3 separate regions of the Homo sapiens genome follow, and regions 1 and 3 are each linked to region 2. Evidence: promoter capture Hi-C in 16 types of primary human blood cells and fetal thymus (Javierre and others, 2016). All regions are on one chromosome and are shown on one strand. The core of a region is centred on a gene start or on the middle of the fragment in contact, and the rest is flanking DNA. Distances in the headings are between cores, read along the strand shown.

The links. The method cuts DNA at HindIII sites, captures the fragments that hold promoters and counts their contacts. A CHiCAGO score of 5 or more calls a contact.
Region 1: a contact is called between a fragment that was not itself captured here and the fragment with the promoter of NUDT13 in region 2, in 1 of 17 cell types (fetal thymus). The highest score is 5.9, in fetal thymus.
Region 3: a contact is called between the fragment with the promoter of DNAJB12 here and the fragment with the promoter of NUDT13 in region 2, in 1 of 17 cell types (neutrophils). The highest score is 7.9, in neutrophils.

Annotation. Positions count from the first base shown.
Region 1 is chr10:72,373,090-72,377,766 of GRCh38, reverse strand. MICU1 (mitochondrial calcium uptake 1) reads left to right here. Exons shown (of 12, transcript NM_001195518.2): 11 at 1,895-1,984. Among named protein-coding and RNA genes, the nearest start is that of DNAJB12, 21 kb to the right of the region's middle. The HindIII fragment of the contact is 6,523 bases long and covers 1-4,677 here.
Region 2 is chr10:73,108,511-73,113,221 of GRCh38, reverse strand. NUDT13 (nudix hydrolase 13) reads right to left here and starts at 2,767. Exons shown (of 9, transcript NM_015901.6): 1 at 2,655-2,767. The HindIII fragment of the contact is 10,450 bases long and covers 1-3,401 here.
Region 3 is chr10:72,352,683-72,357,370 of GRCh38, reverse strand. It overlaps DNAJB12 (DnaJ heat shock protein family (Hsp40) member B12), which reads left to right and starts at 2,452. Exons shown (of 9, transcript NM_017626.7): 1 at 2,452-2,606. The coding sequence starts at 2,474. RefSeq lists enhancers at 2,226-2,475, 2,866-2,995. The HindIII fragment of the contact is 22,726 bases long and covers 1-4,688 here.

The DNA of each region.
Region 1 (4,677 bases), core at 312-2,811, 730 kb after region 2:
ATCTAATGTGATGATTATAGAGAGCTCTTCATTACCAGCATAAATGGAAATTAATCCTTTTCTTTCCCTCATATTTTACCTCACTTAAGAATGTGTCCAGAAGCAATAACATGATTTATAGGTGTAGCTAGACCAGGTTTGAGGATAAATGAGAGAGAAGGCAGTGGAAATTGCCTCGTCCTTCCTGTCTTGTCTTTCATGAGAACCCAATTCTAACATAATTGCTAGTGTTTGACGGTGAATGTCTGGGAAAGAGAAAACGGCAAGAGAAAAGTGATTTTTTGCTGAGGTCTAAAAATATATATTTTTTAAAAGAAAGATATGCATCCTGAACTATTGGCCGGGCCCGCTGAGTGTGGTGGCTCACCCCTGTAATCCCAGCACTTTGAGAGGCCGAGGTGGGCAGATCACCTGAGGTCAGGAGTTCAAGACCACCCTGGCCAACATGGTGAAACCCCATCTCTACTAAAAATATAAAAATTAGCCAGGCGTGATGGCAGGCACCAGTAGTCCCAGCTACTTGGGAGGCTGAAGCAGGAGAATTGTTTGAACCCGGAAGGCAGTGGTTGCAGTGAGCCGAGATCGTGCCACTGCACTCCAGTCTGGCGGACAGAGTAAGACTCTGTCTCAAAAAAAAAAAGAAAGATACGCATCCTGAACTGTTAAGACAAGGGCCAGTGCATATACCAATGGGCTCAGTTGGAAGAAGTCTGGTGCAAAACCAGTAGGGAGGAGGGACAGAGTTGGGCAGGGAGGGCTCACTGTGCAGGCACTTAGCTGTCATTCACCCACCAAGGCGTGAAGCCTTAGTGTACTCACACCACAGACAAGCCTCCTTGTTCCCACCACCCATTTATATATTTCTATAAATATATATATAAATATAAAAATATATATGGCATAAAATGTGCCATTATAACCATTTTTAAATATACAAGTCAGTGGAATTACATTAATTACATTCACAATGTTGTACAACCATCATCACTATTTTCAAAATTTTTCCATCACCCCAGACAGAAATTCTGTATACATAAAGCAGTAACTCCCCATTCCCCTCAGCCCACAATAACCTCTAATCTACTTTCTGTCTATAAATTGAATATCAGGCACTTTTTATTTTTTGAGACAGTGTCTCACTCTGTTACATAGAGTGTTACTCCAGTACAGTGGCGCCATCTCAGCTCATTGAAACCTCTGCCTCCTGGGCTCAAGCTATCCTCTCACCTCAGCCTCCCAAGTAGCTGGTGCACACCACCATGCCGGGCTAATTTTTTGTATTTTTTGTAGAGACAGGGTTTCGCCATGTTGCCTCGGAATCCCAAAGTGCTGGGATTACAGGTATGAGCCACCGCGCCTGGCCAGCCTAGGCATTCTTAATTAACTATATATACCTCCTAAACTGTAGCAGCAGTAGAAAAGAACAGAACTTGAGGTGAAAAGGAGGGAGCTTATGAATAAAAACTCAATTATCATTTTTTCTTTTTTTTTTTGAAACGGAGTCTCACTCTCCCAGGCTGGAGAGCAGTGGCGTGATCTCAGCTCACTGCAACCTCCGCCTCTCGGGTTCAAGCAATTCTCTGCCTCAGCCTCCCAAGTAGCTGGGATTACAGGCACCGGCTAATTTTTTGTATTTTTAGTAGAGACAGGGTTTCACCATCTTGGCCAGGCTGGTCTTGAAGTTCTGGCCTCAGGTGATCCACCCTCCTCGGCCTCCCAAAGTGCTGGAATTACAGGCATGAGCCACTGTGGCCAGCCTAACTTATCATTTTCTTAAATGTGACTTAAATGCAGTTGAAAACTTGTATTATGACTGAGTCGTTTTATCCCCTGAATCAGAGAAAGCAAAATGAAAATCCCTCTGCTGTGCTAATGCACCTCTTTCTTTTTTCAGTGACCATGCAGCAGGTGGCCAGGACAGTGGCTAAAGTGGAGCTCTCAGACCACGTGTGTGATGTGGTGTTTGCACTCTTTGACTGTGATGGTGAGTGGGGCCCTCTGGAGCCCGGAGGGGAAACAGCCTAGCTGCCCTTAGAGGCCCTTGTGTATAATGGAGCCTTGCGGACAGCATCTGTGTACCAGCCCATCCTCTTCAAGCTACCCACCTTTCTCACATTAGCACCTCAGCCCTTGGCATGATGATACTGAGAAATCGAACCCCTGGCCCTGGCTTCTGTTTTCCATTTCTTCTTCTTATAATTCCAATATGCCTATAGGCCTAAATTAATTTATGACCATAAGCATCTTAAAAATGGAAACAAAAATGTCAGACTCAACTTGCTACTTAGCGGATACGGAGCACTCAGGTATCTGAGTGTCTTTAGAAAGAAGGCAGTACTGATCTCTCCACCACCCAGGGCACATTCCAGCCAGTTGCATTCCATCTCCATAGCATTCCAGCTCCACACAGTGGTCTGTTGTGTCTGTGGCCACTCTGCTCTGTCATTTAGCCCATTCAAGAGATCTGGTTCTGGTTTGACCTTGGCATTATTTTTTAGGTATGGTAGCTGATATACTAATAACAACAATAACAACGGATGCTTACACTTTTTCAATGCTTACTATGAGCCAGAAAGTTAATCTGCTCATTTAATCTTCTGACCTAGGTATTGTTATTGACCACTTTTTACTGATGAGAAAGCTGAGACTCAGAGAGGTTAAGTAGATTTCCTAAGGTCACAAAGATAATAGTATTTGGGAGGCTGAGGCAGGCGGATCACCTGAGGTCAGGAGCTCAAGACCAGCCTGGCCAACATGGTGAAACCCCGTCTCTATTAAAAATACAAAAATTAGCCAGGCACAGTGGTGCGTGCCTGAAATCCCAGCTACTCGAGAGGCTGAGGCAAGAGAATCACTTGAACCCGGGAGGCAGCAGGGAGCAGAGATCGTGCCACAACACTCCAGCCTGGGCGACAGAGCGAGACTCTATCTCAAAAAAAAAAAAAAAAAAAAAAAAAAGATAATAGTAGATGGCAAAACCAGGATTTGAACTAAAACTGTACTGCCCCCTCTGTTTTATTTACTATATTACCACCCTCTCTTACCCCACAGCCAGTATTTGTTGTTCATCATCCTCCAGAAAGCTGGGCTAATGGAATTCAAGAGCCTGCTCAAAAGCTCCAGCCTATGGAGCTTCCCTTTTGGTCCCAGCATAAGAATCACTTCTGGGCTTTTTTATTCCTTAACATGGTTCCCTGAGCTTTTTAAGGGTAGTTGCAAGTCCTTTTCACCTTCCTACCCCCCATAGGACCTTGGATAGTACTTCTCACATAATAGGTGTTCATTAACTTGAATTATTTATGTTATTAAGTTGAACTTGAGTTATTTAAATCTCTAGCCTTGGCCTGGCGTGGTGGCTCATACCTGTAATCCCAGCACTTTAGGAGGCTAAGGCAGGAAGATGGTTTGAGCCCAGGAGTTTGAGACCAGCCTGGGCAATATAGTAAGACCATGTCTCTACAAAAAATTTTAAAAATTAGCCAGGCATGGTAGCACATGTGTGCCTATAGTCCCAGCTACTCAGGAGGCTGAAGTGAGAGGATCGCTTGAAGCGGGGAAGTCAAGACTGCAGTGAGCCATGATCACACCACTGCACTACAGCCTGGGTGACAGAGTGAGACCCTGTCTCAAAAAGTACAATTAAATAAATAAAATAAATCTCCAGCCTATACCTACAAAACCAAGGTTGAACTCAAAGGAAGCCCTAGGGCTAGGTTAAAGAGATGGCCTCACTCTCAGGTAGGGGTGGGTTTATTCTCTAGAGCTGCCCTGTCCACAGTATGATACCACCAAGGCACATGTGGCTATTAGCTACATTTAAATTTAAACTAGCTAGTGGCTACTGTATTGAATAGCACAAATATAAAACATTTCCCACATCGCAGAGAGTTCTAATGCACAGCAGTGCTGTAGACATATATTAACTTTCTCCAGATTTTTGTTTTCACTCCAATCACTTCTAGGTGGTTTAAATTTTTTCCAAAAAACATTTATTTTTATTATTTTTATAATTTTTGAAGCCAATATCCAAGACCTGGTCTGTGAAGTAAATATGGGAATAAATGCAACTAGCTTCTCAAGTCCCCCCTTTTCCCTAGAAGTCCTGGAAAATGATGTTTGATTTTCTAGCTTTTTAGAAAGAGGTTCTGTCATTATCTACTTAAATCACCTTTGGAAAATTATTTAACATCTCTGAGATTTATTTTCTTAATCTAGAAAGAAAAAGTATACTTAACAAAAAGCCGTTGTTATTTTTACCACTGCAAGATCTTAGGTCAAAATGCCAAAGGAAAGCCTGTAGAGTGGCTCACAACTGTAATCCCAGCAACTTGGGAGGCTGAGATGGGAAGATCACTTGAGGCCAGGAGTTCAAGACCAGCTTAGGCAACATAGCGAGATCCCATCGCTACAAAAAATAAGTTTAGCCAAGGTGTGGTAGTGTGTGCATGTAGTTCTAGCTACTGGAAAGCTGAGGTGTGAGGATCACTTGAGCCCAGGAGTTTGAGACTGTAGTGAGGTATGATCCTAGCGCTGCACTCCAGCTTGGGCAACAGAGCAAGACCTCATCTCAAAAAAAAAAAAAAAAATGAACAAACAAAATAAAGTGCCAGGGGATGGAGAATTCGATTTTCAAATAGACTTCTTCATCACAGATTTTAGAATTGAACTCACAAATCA
Region 2 (4,711 bases), core at 1,518-4,017:
AATGGATTAATACGCGACTTAAGAACAAATAGAAGGGCTGGGTGCGGTGGCTCACGCCTGTAATCCCAGCACTTTGGGAGGCCGAGGCGGGCGGATCACCCGAGGTCAGGAGTTCGAGACCAGCCTCACCAACATGGAGAAACCCCATCTCTACTAAAAATACAAAATTAGCTGGGCGTGGTGGCACACGCTTGTAATCCTGCCTACTTGGGAGGCTGAGGCAGGAGAATCGCTTGAACCTAGGAGGCAGAGGTTGCAGTGAGCAGAGATCGTGCCATTGCACTCCAGCCTGGGCAACAAGAGCAAAACGTCGTCTTAAAAAAAAGAAAAAGAACAAATAGAAAATAATATAACAGTGAAAAAAATATATATATATAGTAACAGGGAGAGAGACTTAGAACACATTATTAAGTAAACAAAAAAAGCAAGGAGGAATTGGAGGTGATACTAGTCAAAGTGTACAAAGTTTCAGTTAGGATGAATAAATTCTGGATATCTATTGTGTTGTATGGTAACTATAGTTCATAATATATTATATACTTGGAAATTACTAAGAAAGTAGATATTAAATATTCTCAACACACACAAAAAATGTGAGGTGATGAATATATTAATTTGCTAGATTTAATCATTTCACAATGTATACCTGTATCAAAACATCACATTGTAAACTATAAATATATACTTTTTTTGTCAAAAAGTATATATTATACTTTAATACCTTAATATTATACCTTAATAAAGCTGGAGAAAAAAACAGGTAACAGTTGGTTAACATGACCTAATTATTTATAAAAAAAAGGACACAGACATACCAATATACATAAATTATATGTATTTAATTATATTTTTCTTTCTATTTTTTTTTGAGACGGAGTTTCGCTCTTGTTGCCCGGGCTGGAGTGCAATGGCGCAATCTCGGCTCACCGCAACCTCCACCTCCCGGGTTCAAGCGATTCTCCTGCCTCAGCCTCTCGAGTAGTTGGGATTACAGGCATACGCCACCACGCCTAGCTAATTTTGTATTTTTTTTAGTAGAGATGGGGTTTCTCCATGTTGGTCAGGCTGGTCTCGAACTCCTGTTCTCAGGTGATCTGCCTGCCTGGGTCTCCCAAAGTGCTGGGATTACAGGCAAGAGCCACTGCCCCCGGCCTTATTTATATTTTTCAAATGACTAGAAGTATACATACCAAACTATTAAAGAGTGACTAATTTGGGGGAGTGGGATGAAGACAAATATTGAAAAAGGTGCCTGTAATTTTTATTTTGTTCATTTTTCTGTACTGAAAAAAAAATTAGCCATGTGTACTTATTCCTTTTAAGACAAAAGAAAAGCCTAATAAAATAGTAGTTCCTGAGACTAACTGGTTAATGAGGCTACCTCCATGCCACTGTTCCCCAAAACACCTCACCATATTCCATGAGCCAAAGGGAATTCATTTGGTGAGTTTCTTGGACCTTGGGAACTGCTGCCTGATGTTTTGCCTAGTTTCTGCTACTAAATTAACCTTAGCCAGTTGTAGATTATCATGGCTGCTGACTCATGAGCTGATGGTCACAGAGCTATTTATGTTTTTAAAAGTACAATGTTTGATAGAGATGAAAGGTAATAGCAGTCTTACCCAACTACTAAATGATGAGGCAAGGTGCTTTAACATTAAGAGTTTCTTTGAACTCCCCAACACAAATGATTCACACGTTTCTTATCCTGTTCATCTTTCCAGAAGAAAGATTATAAAGTACTACAGCGTGACAAAAAAGCCCATCTTGTAGTGAGCCGAGATCGCGCCACTGCACTCCAGCCTGGGCGACAGAGCGAGACTCCGTCTCAAAACAAAAAAACAAAACAAAACAAGACAAAACAAAAAAAGCCCATCTTGAATCTAGTGGTTACTTCCACCGTGAAGAGGCCAGGTTCCCTAGTATTTAAGAGACCTTTTTTTAGGCCGGGCGCGGTGGCTCACGTCTGTAATCCCAGCACTTTGGGAGGCCGAGGTGGGCGGATCACGAGGTCAGGAGATCGAGACCATCCTGGCTAACACGGTGAAACCCCGTCTCTGTTAAAAATACAAAAAAAAGTGGCTGGGCGTGGTGGCGGGCGCCTGTAGTCCCAGCTACTAGGGAGTATGAGGCAGGAGAATGGCATGAACCCAGGAGGCGGAGCTTGCAGTGAGTGGAGATCGTGTCACTGCACTCCAGCCTGGGCGACCAAGTGATACTTCGCCTGTGTTTAGAGTCCGTTTCTCCACGACTGTGGACCTCCATGGGACAGGGAAATATGGAAAACTGAGGAACCACGGGAATACAGCTTTGAAGGTCTCACTGACCTGCTTTATAGTTTGCTTTCTAAAAAATAATTTTCCCTCCTTTAAAAAAAAATAAAAATTAAGGCACAATGTGAGAGGTTGGCAAGTTCCATTTTTAAATGACTCTCCAAAAAAGTATCAGAAAATGATGAGCTGTGGTTACTGATGTAGCTCCACAGTTATGAGGCAAAACTATGGTTATATCCCTGGTTTCTGCAAAAAGGAAGAGATTAAGCTAAAATGTTAAAATGCTGTGACCACGACCTTTTTTCAAGTTCTGATCATGCCTCCCTGTGAAGTCCTTCCTGCACTTAGAAGCTGAGCAGGTTTCTGTTTCACTGTACTCACTCTGAATTCTTTTCGGGGCACCTTCCTAGTCCTCAGGAATCAGCACAAAAGAGGAAACTCCAAATGTTCACGTTCAACGGCTTCCGTTCCCTGGAGGGACCATTGCTGCTTCTGCCACACTTCCCAGAATCCTCCTAGAGATGCACTCTGGGAATTGTAGTTCAGTTCCCAGGCATGCTGCTGTGTTCTCCAGCTGCAAGTTAACCATGATTGTCAAAAGCATGAACATCTAAGATCTTATTACCAAGAGAACTACTGTATCCTTGGAGAAAGTAGGTTAGTATTAGATCCATTTTTTAATTAAAAAAAGATAAAGTCATTAAGTCCACCCTCATACACAGAAGGCATATATTATGAGGCTGGGGAGAGGATGAAGCAGGGGTGGGAATCAAATACCTTTTAACCTTAGTATATCTCTAGTTCTCTCTCTGCACACTTTAGAACTAGCTCTAAAATTTCATGAAGTTCTTCCAATTTAAAAGGATGGGACTCTGTATAGGTATGTATAGATATGTTTGAACTTATGGTAGGATTCATTTCTTGATCAGAGGAAGCGCATTCCATTTGACTGGAAGTAGTCTCCTAGAAGTGTGTCCGGAGTTGGTTCCTTCCAGTGGGTTCTTGGTCTTGCTGACTTCAAGAATGAAGCCGTGGAGCTTTCGGTGAGTGTTATAGCTCTTAAAGGTGGCACGAACCCAAAGAGTGAGCAGCAGCAAGATTTATTGTGAAGAGCGAGAGAACAAAGCTTCCACAGCGTGGAAGGGGACCCGAGTAGGTTGCCGCTGCTGTTGGGGGTGCCAGCTTTTATTCCCTTATTTGTCCCTGCCCACATCCTGCTGAATGGTCCATTTTACAGAGCACTGATTGGTCCATTTTATGGAGTGCTGATTGGTCCATTTGACAGAGTGCTGATTTGTGCATTTACAATCCTTTAGCTAGACACAGAGTGCTGATTGGTGCGTTTTTACAGAGTGCTGATTGGTGCGTTTACAATCCTTTAGCTAGACACAGTGCTGATTGGTGCATTTACAATCCTTTAGCTAGACACAGAGTGCTGATTGGTGTGTTTACAATCCTTTAGCTAGACACAGAGCACTGATTGGTGCATTTTTACAGAGTGCTGATTGGTGTGTTTACAATCCTTTAGCTGGAAACAGAGTGCTGATTGGTGCGTTTACAATCCTTTACCTAGACACAGAGCGCTGATTGGTGCATTTTTACAGAGTGCTGATTGGTGTGTTTACAATCCTTTAGCTGGACACAGAGTGCTGATTGGTGCATTTTTACAGTGTGCTGATTGGTGCATTTACAATTCTCTAACTAGACAGAAAAGTTCACCAAGTCCCCACTCCACCCAGGAAGTCCAGCTGGCTTCACCTCTCAGCAGAGCTACTTTGGTGCTGCTCTCTTCTCGTTTTACTACTGAAGTTACTTGCCTATGAGAGAAGACACTTTTTTTTTTTTTGAGATGGAGTTGCTCTGTCGCTCAGGTTGGAGAGCAGTGGTACGTACAATCTTGGCTTACTGAAACCTCCTCCTCCGGAGTCAAGTGATTCTCCTGCTTCAGCCTCCCGAGCAGCTGGGATAACAGGTGCACACCACCATGCCTGGCTAATTTTTGTATTTTTAGTAAAGCCAGGGTTTCGCCATGTTGACCAGGCTGTCTTAAACTTCTGACCTCAAGTGATCCACTCGCCTCAGCCTTCCAAAGTGCTGGGATTACAGGCGTGAGCCACCGCACCCAGCCAAGAGAAGAAGTCCACTCATTCAACATGTATTTAATGAGTACCCAATGTGCCTAGGACTGTTATAGGGATAGGATACAGCAGGGAACAAAACATGAAAATCTCTGTCCTCATGTAACTTACATTCTAGAAGGGGAAACAAACGAGTAAATATACAATGTGTCGTGGTTATAAAGCTTAAGAAGAAAAATAAAGCAAGATAAGTAGAGGGATTATTTTGCTATTTTATATAGGATGGTCAGCCTCATTGTTAAGATAATATTTAAACAAAGACCCTGAAGAAGGTGATGAAGAAACCAAATTTATATCTAT
Region 3 (4,688 bases), core at 1,203-3,702, 760 kb after region 2:
ACTGTGCCACTGCACTCCAGTCTGGGTAACAGTGAGACCCTGTCTCAAAAAAATAAAATGAAATAGATAAAAGCAATTTTGTCAAAGTCAACACTGCCCTCTACACTGCCAAATCCATTGGTCATTTCTCAGGCCTCACATTGCTTGGCCTCTCCACAGGATATGACGTTTGACCCCCCCTCCCTCCTTTTCTAAAAAAACTGTTTGTAGAGACCGTGAGGGGGGGCGGTCTCATTATGTTGCCCAGGCTGGTCTTGAACTCCTGGGCTAAAGCGAGCCTCCCACCTCAGCCTCCCCAAGTGCTGGGATTACAGGCATGAGCCACCATACCTGACCTACTCATTTCCTTACAACCTGCTTCTTCACATTCTCCTTTACTGGATTTTCTTCCTCTTCCAGATCTTTAAATGTTGGGATTTCGTGAGGCTCAGTAATCAGACTTCTCTGCTCTTCTCCATCTACACTCACTTCCTTGGTGCATATATATATATATATATATATATATATATATATATATATATATATATATATATATATATATCACAGCTCACTGCAGCCTTGACCTCCCATGCTCAAGTGATCCTCCCACCTCAGCCTCCTGAGTAGCTGGGACTACAGGCGTGTACTACCACACCCAGCTAATTTTTTATTTTTTTGTAGTGATGGGATCTCACTCTGTTGCCCAGGCTGGTCTCAAACTCCTTGCCTCAAGTGATCCTCCCACCCCTGGCCTCCCAAAATGTTGGGATTATAGGAGTGAGCCACTGTGCCTGGCCCCAAAGTTATATTTCCAGGTCCTTTTTGCCTAAACCCTACGTATGTACAACATCCTAGTCTGTATCTCTGCTTGATTCTAAAAAGCATCATAAACTGAATCAAACCCTTAATATTCCCCCACCAAACTGCTTTTGTAGTCTTTTCCATTTCCTTGTTTTAGTAAATAGAAATTCTCTTCTTCCAGTTATCAAGCCAAAAACATTGGAATCATCCTTGAATCTTCTTTCTCTCACAGCCCACATCCATTGCGTCATTCTGTCTTCAAAATATATCCAGAATTTTACTACTACTCACCACCTCCGCCATCACCCTTATCCAAGTTACCATTAATTTTCACCTGTATTATAATAGTAGCTTCCTGACTCTCATCCGGATTACTGTAGTAGCATCTTACCAAATCCTGCCTGAAAGGCCAAGCAATGTAAGGGCTGACAGATGACTCGGGGATTCGGCAACGTGGAGGTCACTGGCAACCTTCACAAGATTGCTTTCACTGGAGTGATAGCCCTCGAAGAACGGGATAATGATAGAACTGGATTACACTCTGTAGTAGAATCTTTTTTTTTTCTTCTTTTTTTTTAGATGGCGTTTCACTCTTGTTGCCCAGGCTGGAGTGCAATGGTGTGATCTTGGCTCACCGCAACCTCCACCTCCCAGGTTCAAGCGATTCTCCCGCCTCAGCCTCCCGAGTAGGTGGGATTACAGGCCATGTGCCACCATGCCCGGCTAATTTTGTATTTTTAGTAGAGACGGGGTTTCTCCATGTTGGTCAGGCTGGTCTCGAACTCCTGACCTCAAGTGATCCGCCCGCCTCGGCCTCTCAAAGTGCTGGGATTACAGGCGTGAGCCACCGCGCCCAGCCTGTAGTAGAATCTTTACGCTCCCTAGAATGTATTCGCCTTCCTGATCTGTTATAACTCACCAAGAGAATTCCCTTTTCAGAGCCTTTGCACTTGCTGTTCCTTCGGCCTGACCACCCTTCCTCCAGACAGTCACATCTACCTGTTATCGTTCCTGAATTCTGGTACCTGTTAATGACAGCTTCTGAGAGGTTTCTTTTATCGCGCTATTTAAAATAGCGCCTCCCACTCTCTATCCCTGTGTTTTCCATAATTTTTCTTCAGAGCTTTTATCACTATCTGAATCTATCTGGAGCTCCCCCAGCCTACACACACTGGAATGTAAGCTCCATGAGAGCAGGAGCTTTGTTTTGCTCACCCCTGTATCCCCATCATAAAACCATGCCTCACAAACAGTGGGCACTCAATATCTGTTCAGTGAATAAATAACCTTTGTCTGAAACGTATGTAGTTACATTACGTATATAGATCACCACTTAGTAAACCGTCTGGGAATAACAGGCACTCCGAAGGCCCCAGTCTCATCCCGACGGCTACCACGTGACCTTCCTGAGCTTGGGTTTCCTCCTCCGGAAGATTAGAGGGTTGGCGCATACTCAACTCTAAGACCTCCGGAACATGGAATCTGGGCGTGCACCATTATTGACACCTACACCAGCCGTCCCTTTCTTAGAAGACATACGGTAGCACTTCCACCCTCGCTCAAAACTCGGGAAAGGAGGGGCGGAGGGTGGATGTCATCACTCCGCGCCCGGCTGCCCGCGACGCGCCGGCGGGTGGCGCAGCCCTTCGCTCGCCCGGCCTCCCCCTCCCTGGTTCCGCGTTCTGGTTCCGCCATGGAATCCAACAAGGATGAAGCTGAGCGCTGTATCAGCATCGCCCTCAAGGCCATCCAGAGCAACCAGCCCGACCGGGCGCTCCGCTTCCTGGAGAAGGCACAGCGGCTGTATCCGACGCCGCGAGTTCGCGGTGAGTGTGAGGTGCCGGAGAGACTGGGGACATTAGAACTGATGGGGGGAACACGGGAACGGACCGACGGGAGCAGTTGGGGGAGGGGGAGGGGTGGCGAGGCGCGGCTACGCCTGCGCACTGAGGCGCGCGGTGGCTGCTGGGAGGCGTAGTTTTTCCCTCTTGTTCCTCTGCGGGATGCGAGCCGTCTGGAGACTCGGGCGGCCGGGACTTCAGCTTTCGGGGTGCTGGCGGAGCCCGCTGGGGTTTGAGGTCTCCGAGAATGAAACGCGCTGGCAGCCGGGACGAAGGGAACTTACCTGGAAGTGAACTCGAACTACTTTTCCCAAGGGGCCGTTCGGTAGCCCAGGCCAGTCGCCGGCCTGGGAAATATTACAGTTCAGGAAAATAAACATAACTCCTTTAAGGGAGAGAATGGGCGCTAGACAGGGAGACATTTCTGTTCTTCGGGCGCCAGGGAAAGGCGCTTCCGTATCTTCACTCCCTCTCACCTCTCGGGCTGAGGGTCAGGGACCACTCTCCCAAAATGCAAGCCGGCCTTTGCACCCACCCCAGTCCGCCGCCTCGGACTGTCCTGAAGCCGGGCCCCTCACTCCTCCCGATGATGAGATTCGGAGCGGGTGGCCTGGTGGGAGGTGCTGACCTCAGCCACCGCCAGTCCTCCATCGCCCGCAAGAGTCCAGCGGCGGTCAGCCATGTGGACGCCGAGGCTGCTGAGTTGCCCTGGACAGGAGCCTCCTGAGCCAGGGAGGGAAGAGTGAAGCTGGCTTTACAACTCATCACCTCGCTTCACCCGGGAACCCTTTCTTTTTTCTTTAACCTAAGTTTTCCAAGGAGTTTTTCTTAATCCACGCTAGAGGGGAGAGAGACACCGGGTGGTGCTTGTGATCACCACTCAGTAAACCGTCTGGGAATAACAGGCACTCCGAAGGGCCCAGTCTCATCCTGACGGCTACCACGTGACCTTCCTGAGCTTGGGTTTCCTCCTCGGGAAGATTAGAGGGTTGGCGCAGATAATGTGATTGGCAATAATACCCATAGGGCTTTGCAGTTTAGGAAGCTCCTTCACCTGTGCCTTCTCACTTGAGCCTGCCAGTCAGGGATGCAGAGCAAAGATCATTATCTTTATTCTATGGGTGAGGAAAATCTCTGAGGTAAGGGATGCCCAGGATGACACAGCTAGAAAGTAAAATGTTCTGTGACTCTGTAAATGTTTATGAAGGAAAAGAAATGAAATTGAGGAACAGCAGTCAGCCTCCTAACCGGCCCTGCCCGCCTGATGAGATTGAGAAAGCGGAACGCTGGTGGAAGAGGTAGCCTGGACTGCTGAACTTTCCTCCCTCCGGACTCTTGCAGGTTGATCTTTGGCCTGTTTGCCTCCCCTTGGAGAGGGTTTCGGGCTGTATTTGCCAGGACACCTGAGGTAACCTGCTCGAGGAGCCTCCCTGTGAATTAATTCATATTCTGTGGTGGGGTGGTATCCTCCAGCTGTCAGAATTCTGCCTGACACTGATGCTGCTGCGGGCTCAGGAGCAGGCAGCCAAGAAAGGATGGGCCACAGGGCCTCTGGGGATCTTTCTGTCAGCAGGCCCCTGCACCAGTTCAGGAGCTTGAAGGAGTGTCCTCTCTGGGGCTCAGGCTCTGGAATTTGCTGAGACAGAAGAACCACCTGCATGCATATTTGTCATATTTGTGCTTTTCTGGAAAGACTATGAGACTATACGCCTTATGCATCCGTGTAAACTTTACCATCTGCAGCCCTCCACTGAGCTGACAAAGACCTGGGATTAGTTTAGGTCTGGGACAGGGAAAGATCTTACTTCAAAAATAGAGGGCAGGGCTACCCACTGGGCTGGCTACCTGCCTCCCCAGGGGGAGTAATACAGATATATTAGGTGGCGGTCTATTGCTTTGGGTTTAGGCTCATCCCAGATGCTCATTCAATGCAGCAGACTTTTGTTGAAGATCATTTATGTTTTGTTTGCAAAGTCCTCTGCTTGGTGCTAGCAAGATTGGTAAAATGTGATCCCTCACCTCAAAAGAGCTTATAATCTAGTGAAAGAGACAAAACTTACAGAAACA